2 separate regions of the Homo sapiens genome follow, and region 2 is linked to region 1. The links are contacts of gene promoters, found by promoter capture Hi-C in blood cells and fetal thymus (Javierre and others, 2016). All regions are on one chromosome and are shown on one strand. Each heading gives the region's core, a stretch centred on a gene start or on the middle of the fragment in contact. The rest is flanking DNA. Distances are from core to core; before and after follow the strand shown.

What was found. The method cuts DNA at HindIII sites, captures the fragments that hold promoters and counts their contacts. A CHiCAGO score of 5 or more calls a contact.
Region 2: a fragment that was not itself captured here is called in contact with the fragment with the promoter of MAFK in region 1 in 3 of 17 cell types (naive CD4 T cells, total CD8 T cells and naive CD8 T cells); the score reaches 6.2 in naive CD4 T cells.

What each region holds. Positions count from the first base shown.
Region 1 is chr7:1,527,517-1,533,247 of GRCh38, forward strand. It overlaps MAFK (MAF bZIP transcription factor K), which reads left to right and starts at 3,186. Exons shown (of 3, transcript NM_002360.4): 1 at 3,186-3,382. LOC100128653 (a long non-coding RNA gene) reads right to left here. Exons shown (of 1, transcript NR_149036.1): 1 at 4,937-5,731. RefSeq lists silencers at 3,016-3,285, 3,776-3,905 and enhancers at 5,222-5,371, 5,297-5,591, 5,562-5,671. The HindIII fragment of the contact is 17,285 bases long and covers 1-5,731 here.
Region 2 is chr7:2,404,554-2,410,284 of GRCh38, forward strand. The region is part of intron 1 of CHST12 (carbohydrate sulfotransferase 12); the gene reads left to right. Among named protein-coding and RNA genes, the nearest start is that of CHST12, 3.8 kb to the left of the region's middle. RefSeq lists enhancers at 1,455-1,574, 2,425-2,544, 4,182-4,241, 4,252-4,371. The HindIII fragment of the contact is 867 bases long and covers 2,225-3,091 here.

The sequences.
Region 1 (5,731 bases), core at 1,936-4,435:
CTCACTGAAGCCTCCGCCTCCTGGGTTCAAGTGGTTCTCCTGCCTCAGGCTCCCGAGTAGCTGGGACTACAGGCGTGAGTCACCACATCTGGCTAATTTTGTATTTTTAGTAGACATGGGGTTTCTCCATGTTGGTCAGGATGCTCTTGAACTCCCGACCTCAGGTGATCTGCCCGTCTCAGCCTCCCAAAGTGCTGGGATTATAGGCATGCGCCACCACACTCAGCTAATTTTGTATTTTTAGTAGAGACAGGGTTTCTCCATGTTGGTCAGGCTGGTCTTGAACTCCTGACCTCAGGTGATCCACCCACCTTAGCTTCCCAAAGTGCTGGGATTACAGGCGTGAGCCAGCTTGCCCAGCCAGAACTTAACATTTTTTTACAAAAGGAACTACTAAATGATGAAAAATTTCTGGAGATGGATGATGGCAATGTTTGTACCACAACGTGAATGTACTTAACGCCACCGAACCGTACACTTAGAATGGTTAACTTGGCCTAGTGTGATGGCCACCATGCCCAGCCTATTCACCTAATCACACCTGTGATCTTAGCACTTTGGGAGGCTGAGGTAGGAGGATTGCTTGAGGCCAGGAGTTCAAGACCAACCTGACCAACGTAGCAAGACCCTATCTCTGAAAAAATATTTTTTTAACTTAAAAAAAATGGTTAAAATGGTAAATTCTATGTGATGTTTACTTTACCACAATAAAAAGTAAACTTTGGCTAGGCACAGTGGCTCATGCGTGTAATCCCAACACGTTGAGAGGACGAGGCGGGAGGATCACTTGAGCCCAGGAGTTCAAGACCAGCCTAGGCAACAGAGCAAGATCCTGTCTCTACAAAAAAAAACAAAGAAAATTAGCCAAGCGTGGTAGCACCAGCCCTTGGTCCCAGCTACTTAGGAGGCTGAGGTGGGAGGATCACTTGAACCTGGGAGGTGGAGGCTACAGGGAACTGTGATTGCACCAGTGAACTCCAGTTTGGGCGACAGTGAGATGTTGTCTCATAAAACAAACATAAATAAATAATTCAAAATTTTAAAAATTAGGCTGGATGCAGTGGCTCACGCCTGTAATCCCAGCACTTTGGGAGGCCAGGGCGGGTGGATCACCTGAGGTCAGGGGTTCGAGACCAGCCTGGCCAACATGGTGAAACCGTCTCTACGAAAAATACAAAAATCAGCCGGTGTGGTGGCGCACGCCTGTAATCCCAGCACTTTGGGAGGCCGAGGCAGGCAGATCACAAGGTCAAGAGATTGAGACCATCCTGGCTAACATGGTGAAACCCGTCTCTACTAAAAATACAAAAAAAAAAAAAATTAGCCGGGCGTGGTGGCAGGCATCTGTAGTCCCAGCTACTCAGGAGGCTGAGGCAGAAGAATTGTTTAAATCTGGGAGGCGGAGCTTGCAGTGATCCGAGATCGTGCTACTGCACTCCAGCCTGGCAACAGAGTGAGACTCCATCTCAAAACAGCAACAAGAACAAAAACAAAATTTAACCAGACGTGGTGGTGGGCACCTGTGATCCCAGCTACTCGAGGGGGCTGAGGCAGGAGAATCACTTGAACCTGGGAGGCGGAGGCTGCAGTGAGCCGAGATGGTGCCACTGCACTCCAGCCTGGACGACAGAGTGAGACTCCATCTCAGAAATAAATAAATACAAATTAAAAAATTAAAGAGATAATAAAAGTGTGTGATTAGTAACAAAAGCCTGCTATGGAAAGAATGCATTTGGGTTAGAGGAGCGACACCATGAGTAACGTAAAGAGTCCCGCGGAGATGGCCACAGCTTCTCTGGAGGCTCCCAGCGCATCCCAGGACCCCGAGTGCAGAGTGTGGGCCAGGACAAGGGAAGCACCTTTCCCATCCCCGGGGGATGTCTTTCTGCAAACATCCTGGGGACGTGGGACATTGTCGCTACTGCTGCTGTTGAGTTATTTCTTGGCACCTGTTTCTGCGGCCAGGTTGCAGGCATCACTGTGGCTAGCTGCCCCAGACGGCCGTGTGGGCCTTAGCAAGGAGGGGCCTCCCAGGTGGCCAGTGCAGAACCCGCAAGTGGGGGGGAGAGATGGCCCGGGAGGCTGCCCCCGCGCTCCACAGCAAGAGGCCACTGGGCTGCTGCCTAAATCCCCAGCCACATGGTGGTAAGGACGACACCCAGAAGATGCACAGACCTCCCTGCACTGGCTCCTGAGTCCCACCTGAGCCGAGAAAACAGGCTCCCGGGTCCCACCTGAGCTGAGAAAACAGGCTTCCCAGAACCCCGGGCAGATGCCATGGGTGTCCTGGGGGGCCCTCGGTTGCCCAGGCCTGAAACTCCTCTTCCTGCAGCGCTCAGAGGGGGGCGGGACTTGGGGACCCAGAAGCGTGGCAAGGGGCTCCAGACGGATCCCCTCTCCAGCCTGTCCTCCACCTGTGACAGGAAGCAGAGGCAGCTCCCTCAGGGGCCCGCCCCCACCTGAGGATCCCTCACAGGACTCCTTGGGCCAGTGGTGCCCTAACCCCATCCTGGGCCTGCTGTGTCCCCTGGCAACCACCAGCTGGGGCTTTAGAAGGGGGCTGGCCCCACCCACAGAGGCTGTGATCACTAGCCGCTTATCCCCATTTTTACATTGCTGGTTTGCTTGTTTTGTTTTTTTGAGACAGGGTCTCACCTTGTCACCCAGGCTAGAGTGCAGTGATGAAATCATGGCAGCCTCCACCTTCCAGGTTCAAGCCATCCTCCTGCCTCAGCCTCCTGAATATCTGGGGCCGCAGGCACATACCACCACGCCCGACTAATTTTTGTAATTTTTTTGTAGAGATGGGGGTCTCACTGTGTTGTCCAGGCTGGTCTGGAACTCCTGGGCTCAAGCGATCCTCCTGCTTTGGCCTCCCAAAGTGCTGGGATTACAGGCATGAGCCACCGTTCCCAGCTGGCCTTAATGTTTTTTATGTTTATAGAGACAGAGAATGGGGGAAGGGAGGTTTCGCTATGTTGCCCAGGCTGGTCTTGAACTCCCGGCCTCCAGAGATCTTCCCGCAGGGCCTCCCAAAGCGCGGGGATTGCAGGTGCGCGCGGGGCCAGCGGCCCCCCGGGCGGGAGAGGAGGGCGTGGCCGGGGGGCGTGGCCGCGGGGCGGGGAGGGGGCGTGGCCCGGGGGGCAGGGCGGTGTGACGCGCGCGCCGCGGATCCCGGAAGCGGTGTCAGATGCTGGGGAGCCGGGCGGGCGGGTGCGGTGGCGGCGGGCGGCGCGGGGGCACTTGTTGTTCTTCGCGAAGTCGGAGCCCGAGCGCCAGGCGGCGGCGGCGGCCGAGGGGAGCGCGACAGTGAGCGCCGGCGCGAGGACAGCGCGTGCCCGCGAGGAGCCGCCGCGCGCCCGCGCCCTCCGCGCGACGCCAGGTGAGGGGCGGTGGGGCAGCGGGGCCCGGGCCGCGGCGGGGACGGGGACCGGGGCGCGGGGCCGGGGCTACCTGGCCGCTGAGTCACGGCCGCCTGGGGGCGCGGGCCGAGGGTGGCGGGGTTGGGTGCGCGGGGCCCGAGACCCTCATGCGGCCCGCGGCGCGGCCCGGGCACCTGCCCAGGTGGGCCCCGCCCCGCAGGCCCGGGGGCTTCCCCGGGACGCGAGGCTCTCTCCCCTGCACGTGCCGCCCGGGCCATGCTTGCCGCGCCGGGGGCCCCAGGGCGCGGACCCCAGACCTGGGAGGACGAGGATCCACGCGGGTCGGCGGCGCGCATCGGGCCCGCGCCTTCACACCTGCGGGGGGCGGGGCGGGGCGGGCGCCACGTGCGGGCGGTGCGGGGAGGGCGCGGGCGCGTGGATTCTCCGCGGCTTCCGCCCCAGCGTGGCTTCCGCGTGCGGCCCCGGACTGCCCCCCGCGCTTCCTCCCGGTGACGGGCGGCGCTCTGGCCCAGTGGCTGGGGTCACGCGTGCCCGGGAACGGGGTGGGGGTAACCGGGTCTCCCCACAGGCGGGATCCTGGGACTGGTGTCGCTCTCAGCCGCCCACCTGCCAGGGTTGCTGGAAGGAAGGCCGTGGGGAGGCGGGAGGGGGGCAGGTGACAGTGGCCCCAAGGCTCGTCCCTTTGCTCACGTGTGGGGCAGGGGCTCCGGCCTCTTCCCGCTCCCACTGCGTGAGTTCTTCTGTGCCTCTGTCAAGTTCAGGAAACTGTGTATGTGCCCGTGACTGTGTGTGTCTGCGTCTGCACAGCCTCTAGATCCTGGGGGGTGGGACCAGGCGCCACCGAGAAACCCAGAAAGCCAGGACCCCGCCTGGCCTTGGCCCTTGACCTGGGTCCGCCTGGGACACAGCAGTGGCCCTGCACTGCATTCTCGCGCTCACACCGTGTGTGTCCGTGTTCGCGGGGCCTCCCGTGTCCCTCTCCTGGTGTCCTGCGTCCCTGAGCATGCTGTTTTCTTGCTTCTTAAGTAGCTCTTGTAGCTGAGGCAGAAATTAGATCCACTCACCATTCATTCACCAGGTGACCCACAGGCAGCCAGCCAATCTCTGGCCAGGTGCCTGGCCTTGGGAAGATCCTGAGACTCAAAACGCCCCCCACCGCCCCCCATCGTGGTCTAGGGGATATCTGTGTGGTTCGGCTCTGGCAGCGCCCTTCCCACCCCTCTGATTCTCCAGGGTGGGCTGCCAGGTCTCTTTACTGGCACTGAGGTTTCACCGTCACGGTGTGTTGTTGTAAGGGGTTCTCCAACACAGAGTGGGGTGCCCTATGCAGCTTCTCCAAACCCAATGTCTTCAGGGACATGGAGCATTAAAAGAGCCGTGGGCGGGGTCTGGAGAACATAGGTGGGCTGTGCAGGTGTCTGGGACACACCTACACCCTATTTGGGCGTCCAGTGCCATTTATGAGAACATCTCCCTTTCTTAGGTAACCCAGTAGGAATGTCTGAGTTTGACCTTGGGAGAGGGAGTCTGCTTTTAAAACTAGACCTCTCATTATTCCAAAATAAGACATTTATTAAAGCAGAAAAACCAGGCTTCTCCTGCCTTTTATCCTTGAACCGAGCCAGGGCTTTGAGGGGCTGGTTGCCCGCAGCGTCGACTCCCCAGGTGCTGGTAAACCCGGGAGCCAGCGTTTACCGAGGGTCAGGGTTGTCGGGGCGCCAGCCTTTGTGTGCACCCGGGAGGCTGCTGTTAAGGGAGACCGTCTTCCGGGCCACTTCGCTGTCTACAAGGCGTGTGCTTTCACCCACGGGGCTCAGCGATGGCTGCGTTTGTTTACAGTCTCTGGCAAAGCTGTTTGCCACCCAGACGGAGAAGAAGTTGTGCCTGTTCTTGTCCCAGCTGTTTCTGAGTCTAAAGGTTTCTGGAGTGGACTTTCTGGGTTTCGGGTCCAGTCCACACGGGAAATGGAAATCTGGCCAGCTGAGAGAGGGCTCCGTGTGGCCGCCTTTCAACAGTAAACAGTGACTCACCGCTCCGTCCCCACCCTCCCTGCTCTCCGCGAATGGAAGATGCCTTTCCCCGCTATTTATTTTTGCTTTTTATAAGTCACAGACTCGTCATGTTTCCGCTTTCCTACAGTTTCAGGAAACTGGGAGTGTCGTCTTAAAATCATAGAGTTTTAGAGCAGGTACAAGCGAACTTGAGTGGCCACATGCCCCACCCCCCGACCAGCTGCTGTAGATGAGGAAGCCCAGGCCATGAGGTCTGCTGGCCTGTCCCACAGGCCGGTGGGGTCTGGTGTAGAGCCTTCCTGCTTCTCCGCACTGTGCGTCGGGTGTCCTGGGGAA
Region 2 (5,731 bases), core at 1,408-3,907, 880 kb after region 1:
GGGTGGTTGGGGACAGCTCAGCGGGTCCCCCACTTACCCCCACGCGGGGACCCGGGTTAGCCCCTCACCGTGAGCATCTGGTGTTGGGAGTCAGGGCTGGTGTCTGAGTGAGGATGGAGAGAAAACAGGGGTAATGAGGAGATTGCTACACGAAGGTGCAACGCTTGAGATCTGAAAGAGCACCTGCCTGGAATGGCATAGATGTTTGATTTCCCTGCAAAGGAGTTTATGGGACTTTGGGCTGACGCTTTGGGGCCAGCAGTAACTGTCTGCTGTCACTCAGCTGACTCCAGCTTTATTATCAAACCTCCAATCGAGTGCAAGATGCTAAGCTGGGGTAGATGCCGGTAATAGCGTGGGCCTTGCCCTGGGAGCTCACGGCCAGCCTGGCTACAACTGTGTGGAGTTGAGACTGTGGTGCAGGCGTTAACAGAATGTGGCGACATTTTCCGACATTTTCCACAGTGGAGAGGACCTATGAATTGGGGCGTTTGGAGGCAAAGGGCATGCAGAGATGTGGAAGTGAAAGTGATGTTTGGGGGAGATGGTGGGTCGCCGTGTTCTTGATGAAGTGGGGTTTGAGGATTGGGTTGGAAGCTAAGACTGGAAGGCCGGGCGAGGTGGCTCGTGACTGTAATCCCAGCACTTTGGGAGGCAGAGGCGGGCGGATCACCTGAGGTCAGGAGTCCGAGACCAGCCTGGCCAACATGGTGAAACCCCATCTCTACTAAAAATACAAAATTTAGCTGGGCGTGGTGGTGCACACCTGAAGTCCCAGCTACTTAGGAGGATGAGTCAAGAGAATAGCTTGAACCTGGAGGCGGAAGTTGCAGTGAGCCGACACTGGGCCTCTGCACTCCAGCCTGGGCAACAGAGTAAAAAAAAGACTGGAAAGATGGGTTTCTGATTGTGCAGGGGCCTGAATGCTGTGTGAGGGAGTTTAAACTTTTATCCCTTTGGTGGTGGTTTGGGTGCGACGCGATTAGATGTGTTTCAGAAAAGTGGTCGTGGTGAGAATATGGGAGGTGGGTTTTGCCTCTGGGCAGTGGAGCTGAGTTGAGTAGCCTTGTGGGGCGTGGGTCTGGGGCAGTGAGAGAGTGGGGGCGGGCATGGAGCTGAAAGATGTTGCCAAATCCACTGGGCGGTGGCGCTTTGTGAGATGTGGCGACCTGTAACAGCGAGGGCAGCCGGGACTTCTCACCTGCGATGAGGAGCGCTGCGGCCAGGTGGGAGAGGAAGGGCCACACAAACACACGTGGGTTTTAGACCTGCAGAGTTGGCGGTATTGGTGGCCATCCTGGAGGAGATGTGACCTGGTGGAGAAGAGACAGCCTGTACAAGGAGGGAATCCCCAGGAACCCCAGTGGGAAGGGATCCAGAGCTGAAGAGAGGCCCGTTGGTTGGCTGACCTTGGGCGTGCAGTTCCTTGACTACGCACAGTCATTGAGGCTGGCAGGTGATTCTCTTCTAGTGTGGGTCAGGGGCTGAAGGAGCCATCAGTGGGAAAAGACGGGTTATTGATGATACTGAAACACATGCGGCTTGTTTGTCATTTAAAAAAACCGTACATCTTGAGTTTCGATTCTTAAGTTGTCTTTCTTTTCGGAGAGTAGCTGTTAGTTTCACACTTGCTTAGTGGGTCTGTGGCTGCAGGCGGGACTGTGGTTCTCCAGCCCTGGCCCACAGATGTGCCTGGAGATAATTGACTCTCCAACTTATTACTTCCTGCTGTTAAGGTGGTGGTTTCTGTAACTGTTTAGAAACTTTAAAGATATTTCAGAGAAGAATGGGAGACAGGTACAGTTGAGTACGGGGTGGGGGCACAGTTGAGTATGGGGTGGGGGCACAGTTGAGTACGGGGTGGGGGAACAGTTGAGTATGGGGTGGGGGCACAGTTGAGTACGGGGTGGGGGCACAGTTGAGTACGGGGTGGGGGCACAGTTGAGTACGGGGTGGGGGCGCGGTTGAGTATGGGGTGGGGGCGCAGTGCTGAACAGGGCACAGGAGGAGGAAGCGAACAGGGACCCTTTGGCTCCCAGAACATGACCAGCTGGGGCTTTTCCCTGTAGACAGGAGGATGGATGTGTCTTTGGGGAATCTGAGTAGCCCAAGAGAAAAGACCTAAAATTAATGACATCAGGAGGTCCCCAGTCAGCAGACCCAGCTGGATCCCTTGCTAACGAAGCCCGTCATTAATAACCCCCTCCCAGTGTTCAAGGCATCAAGCTTTAAAAATCCCCATCCCTTAAATATGAGCAGATAACCAAGGGCATCTGAAGAAAACCTCTGCTACAGGAGATTGAGACCAGAATACACACTGGGAAACCAGAGAGCGTGCAGGAAGGAGCCTTAGAAAGCAGGCTGTCATTAATGTCCACGCGGAGGTGAGCGAAAATATCGCGAACATGAGGCAAGAACAGGAAGCTCTAAAAAAAAGCCACCAAAAGGAGTATTCGAATATCCAAAAAGAGAACTCTCGGATGTAAAAAAAAAAAATAAAAGCAGAAATAAGAAAATCAGTTAGTGGGTGAAAGATAAAGTTGAGGAACTCCCTCAGAAAGTAGAACAGAAAAGCAACGAGGTGGCAAATGAGAGAAAAAAGAAACGGAAAGGATCAGATCAGGAAGTCAGCAGCTGAATAGTAAGAGCTTCAAAGCTGAGGTGAGAGGATCGTTTGAGGCCAGGAGTTCAAGACCAGCCTGGGCAACATAGCAAGACCCCCATCTCTACAACAAAATTTAAAAATTAGCCAGGTGTGGTGGTGTGCACCTGTAGTCCCAGCTACTTGGGAGGCTGAGGTGGGAGGATCACTTGAGCCCAGGAGTTTGAGGCTGCAGTGAGCTGTGATCATGCCACTGCCATCCAGCCTGGGTGACAGAGCAAGACCCCATCTCTAAAAAATAAAATAAAATACATTTTAAAAAGTTTCCAGAAGAAAAAAATAGGGAAAACAGGATGAAATTCACAAAATAATTTCCTAGAACCCAAACTTTCTGGGTTAAAGAGGCTCACCCAGTGGCCAGTACCACGGGTGAAAATGCAGGTATCCTTCACTTTCATAGCCTCTTCACTTCTCAGCTTGGATATTAAAAGCTTGGGAAGGCTGGGTGTGGTGGCTCATGCCTGTAATCCCAGCAATTTAGGAGGTAGGTGAATCACTGAGGTCAGGAGTTCGAGACCAGCCTGGCCATCATGATGAAACCCCATCTCTACTAAAAATACAAAAATTAGCCAAGCATGGTGGTGGGTGCCTGTAATCCCATACTCAGGAGGCTGAGGCAGGAGAATTGCTTGAACCCAGGAGGCGGGGGTTGCTGTGAGCCCAGATCGTGCCACTGCACTCCAGCCTGGGCAATAGAATGAGACTCCGTCTCAAAAATAAAATTTAAAAAATTAAAAGTCTGGGCAGCAAACTTGGATAGTGAGAGAGGCTGAGTTTCAGATAAAGACTAGTGAGAGCTTGGGAGGGGAAGGATTTATTTGAAAGCATGTCTGCAGCTGTTGACCCCAGAATTTGGATAGTGAGAGTTCAGAGGCCAGGCGCTGTGGCTCACGCCTGTAATCCCAGCACTTTGGGTGGCCGAGGTGGACGGATCACTTGAGGCCAGGAGTTTGAGACCAGCCTGGCCAACATAGTGAAACCCTGGCTAATACAAAAATTAGCCAGGTATGGTGGCAGGTGCCTGTAATCCCAGCTGCCCAGGAGGCTGAGACAGGAGAATTGCTTGAACCTGGGAGGCGGAGGTAACGGTAAGTGGAGATCATGCCATTGCACTCCAGCCCGGGCAACAAGGGTGAGACTCCGTCTCAAAAAAAAAAAAAAAAAAAAAAAAAAAAGATCCTTGCGTACCCTCTCCAGGACATACTGTTGTGAAATCTCAGAACAAGAGGAGAAAGTAAAAACAAATCACAAATAGGTCATCACAGGTCAAGAGGCAGAAGGTTAGAACATGTGGAAAAAGGCAGAAGAACTAACTACAATTAAAATGAAAAGAAGCAGAAGGGCTTGGGCTTTTTCAAAGCAGCACTGGGTGGCAGGAGACGGGAGGGCCTTGCTTGAGAAATTCTGAAGGATGCATTTGCAGCCTGGAAGTCTACACTCAGGCAAGGGAGGGTAGGGTAAAGACAACTTCAGACTTGCTCCCAGATTTGTTCCTCATGCTTTAAGGAGGTGATTGGCAGATGTAGTCTCCCCAGATGAGGCAGTAAGTCTAGACTGAGAGAGACTGGCTGGTGGGAACAGGATTTCCCCCAGGTGAGAGGTGAGAAGAACCTGCTGAAGGGAAATCCCAGCCAGGTGCTGGTGTGAAGAGCAGACATGTCCTGACCCCAGCTGGTCAGAGGCTCCAAGAGGAGATTCTTTGGGAGAAGATGAAATTAGCAGGACACCTGACATGCTGCAGCATCTGGAGAGGAGTTGATACAGTTGGCAGAGTTGGGGCGGGATTAGTGATAAGTACTAAACAAAGCAAATGAAAACACAAGGCTGTTATTAGTTCCAGGGAAAATAAACCATCGTGCGGGAAACGAAAAATAATTATGGTGTACTACAAGGCGCAGCTGTGGATAGCCTCGCCGCAATGATAGTAATTTATGTAAACACTGACTGCTGCTCTAATTGAAATTATGATGCACCTGGGCAGAGAAGGTGTGGGGAGGAGAGCGCTGCATTTTCGCCTGTCGCCTTGGGAAGTCAGTCGCTAATGCCCCAAGCTGAACAACCAAGGTTCACTCTGAAGGCAGACATTAAAAGAATTAGCTAAAAAGAATTATGGAGCGGGTAGGGCGTGGTGGTTCGCACCTGTAATCCCAGCACTTCAGGAGGCCGAGGCAGGAGGATTGCTTGAGTCCAGGAGTTCAAGACCAGCCTGGGCAACATGGCGAAACCCTGTCTCTACTGAAAATACAAAAATTAGCCAGACATGGTGGCCTGTGTCTGTCTCAGCTCCTTGGGAGGCTGAGGTGGGAGGATCACTTCACTTGAGCCCAGGAGGTGGAGATTTTAGTGAGCTGAGATCGAGCCATCACACTCCACTCTAGCCTGGGTGACAGAGCAAGATCCTGTCTCAAAGAAAAAAAAAAAAAAAGAATCATGGAGAAGGGCGGAGGTGAGAAAGGGAAGCAGGGACAGAGACTGTTGAGTTTCTTAATAAACTTCACCTCACGGAATGATTTCACTCTTTCATGGATATGTATGTGTGGCATTGAATTGACCCAAATGGGAACAGTCTCAGATGGGCTTTCTGCTCTGATGGAATGGCGGCCCTCGCCTGCCTCTGTGCACAGGCCCTGTTAACAGGGAGGGTTTCCTTGCTCTGATTTCCTCTTGGTTATTGTCATTGTTCTCTGTATGCTGTCTCGTCGTTGTGGTCATTTATCAGAGATTCTGAGCACTTTTTTTTTTTTTCCTTTCAGGCAGAGTCTCACTCTGTCACTCAGGCTGGAGTGCAGTGATATGATCTCATTGCAGCCTCTGTTTCCTGAGTTCAAGCAATTATGATTACAGGCCTGAGCCGCCACGCCCGGCCGAGCGCTTTCTTTCGTCGTTTTCCAAGGGGGTTTTAAAACATACCGACCAGTAGAGAGAGCAGTATTATACATCATCCTTCACCTGTCCCCAAGTTTCAGAAATTAGGCAATCAGAGTTTGTCTGGTTTTTGTTAGAACATCACCTCTTTCTTGAGCAAGTACTGAGTGCCAGATGCTACTGTAAGCCTTGAGAATACCCGCT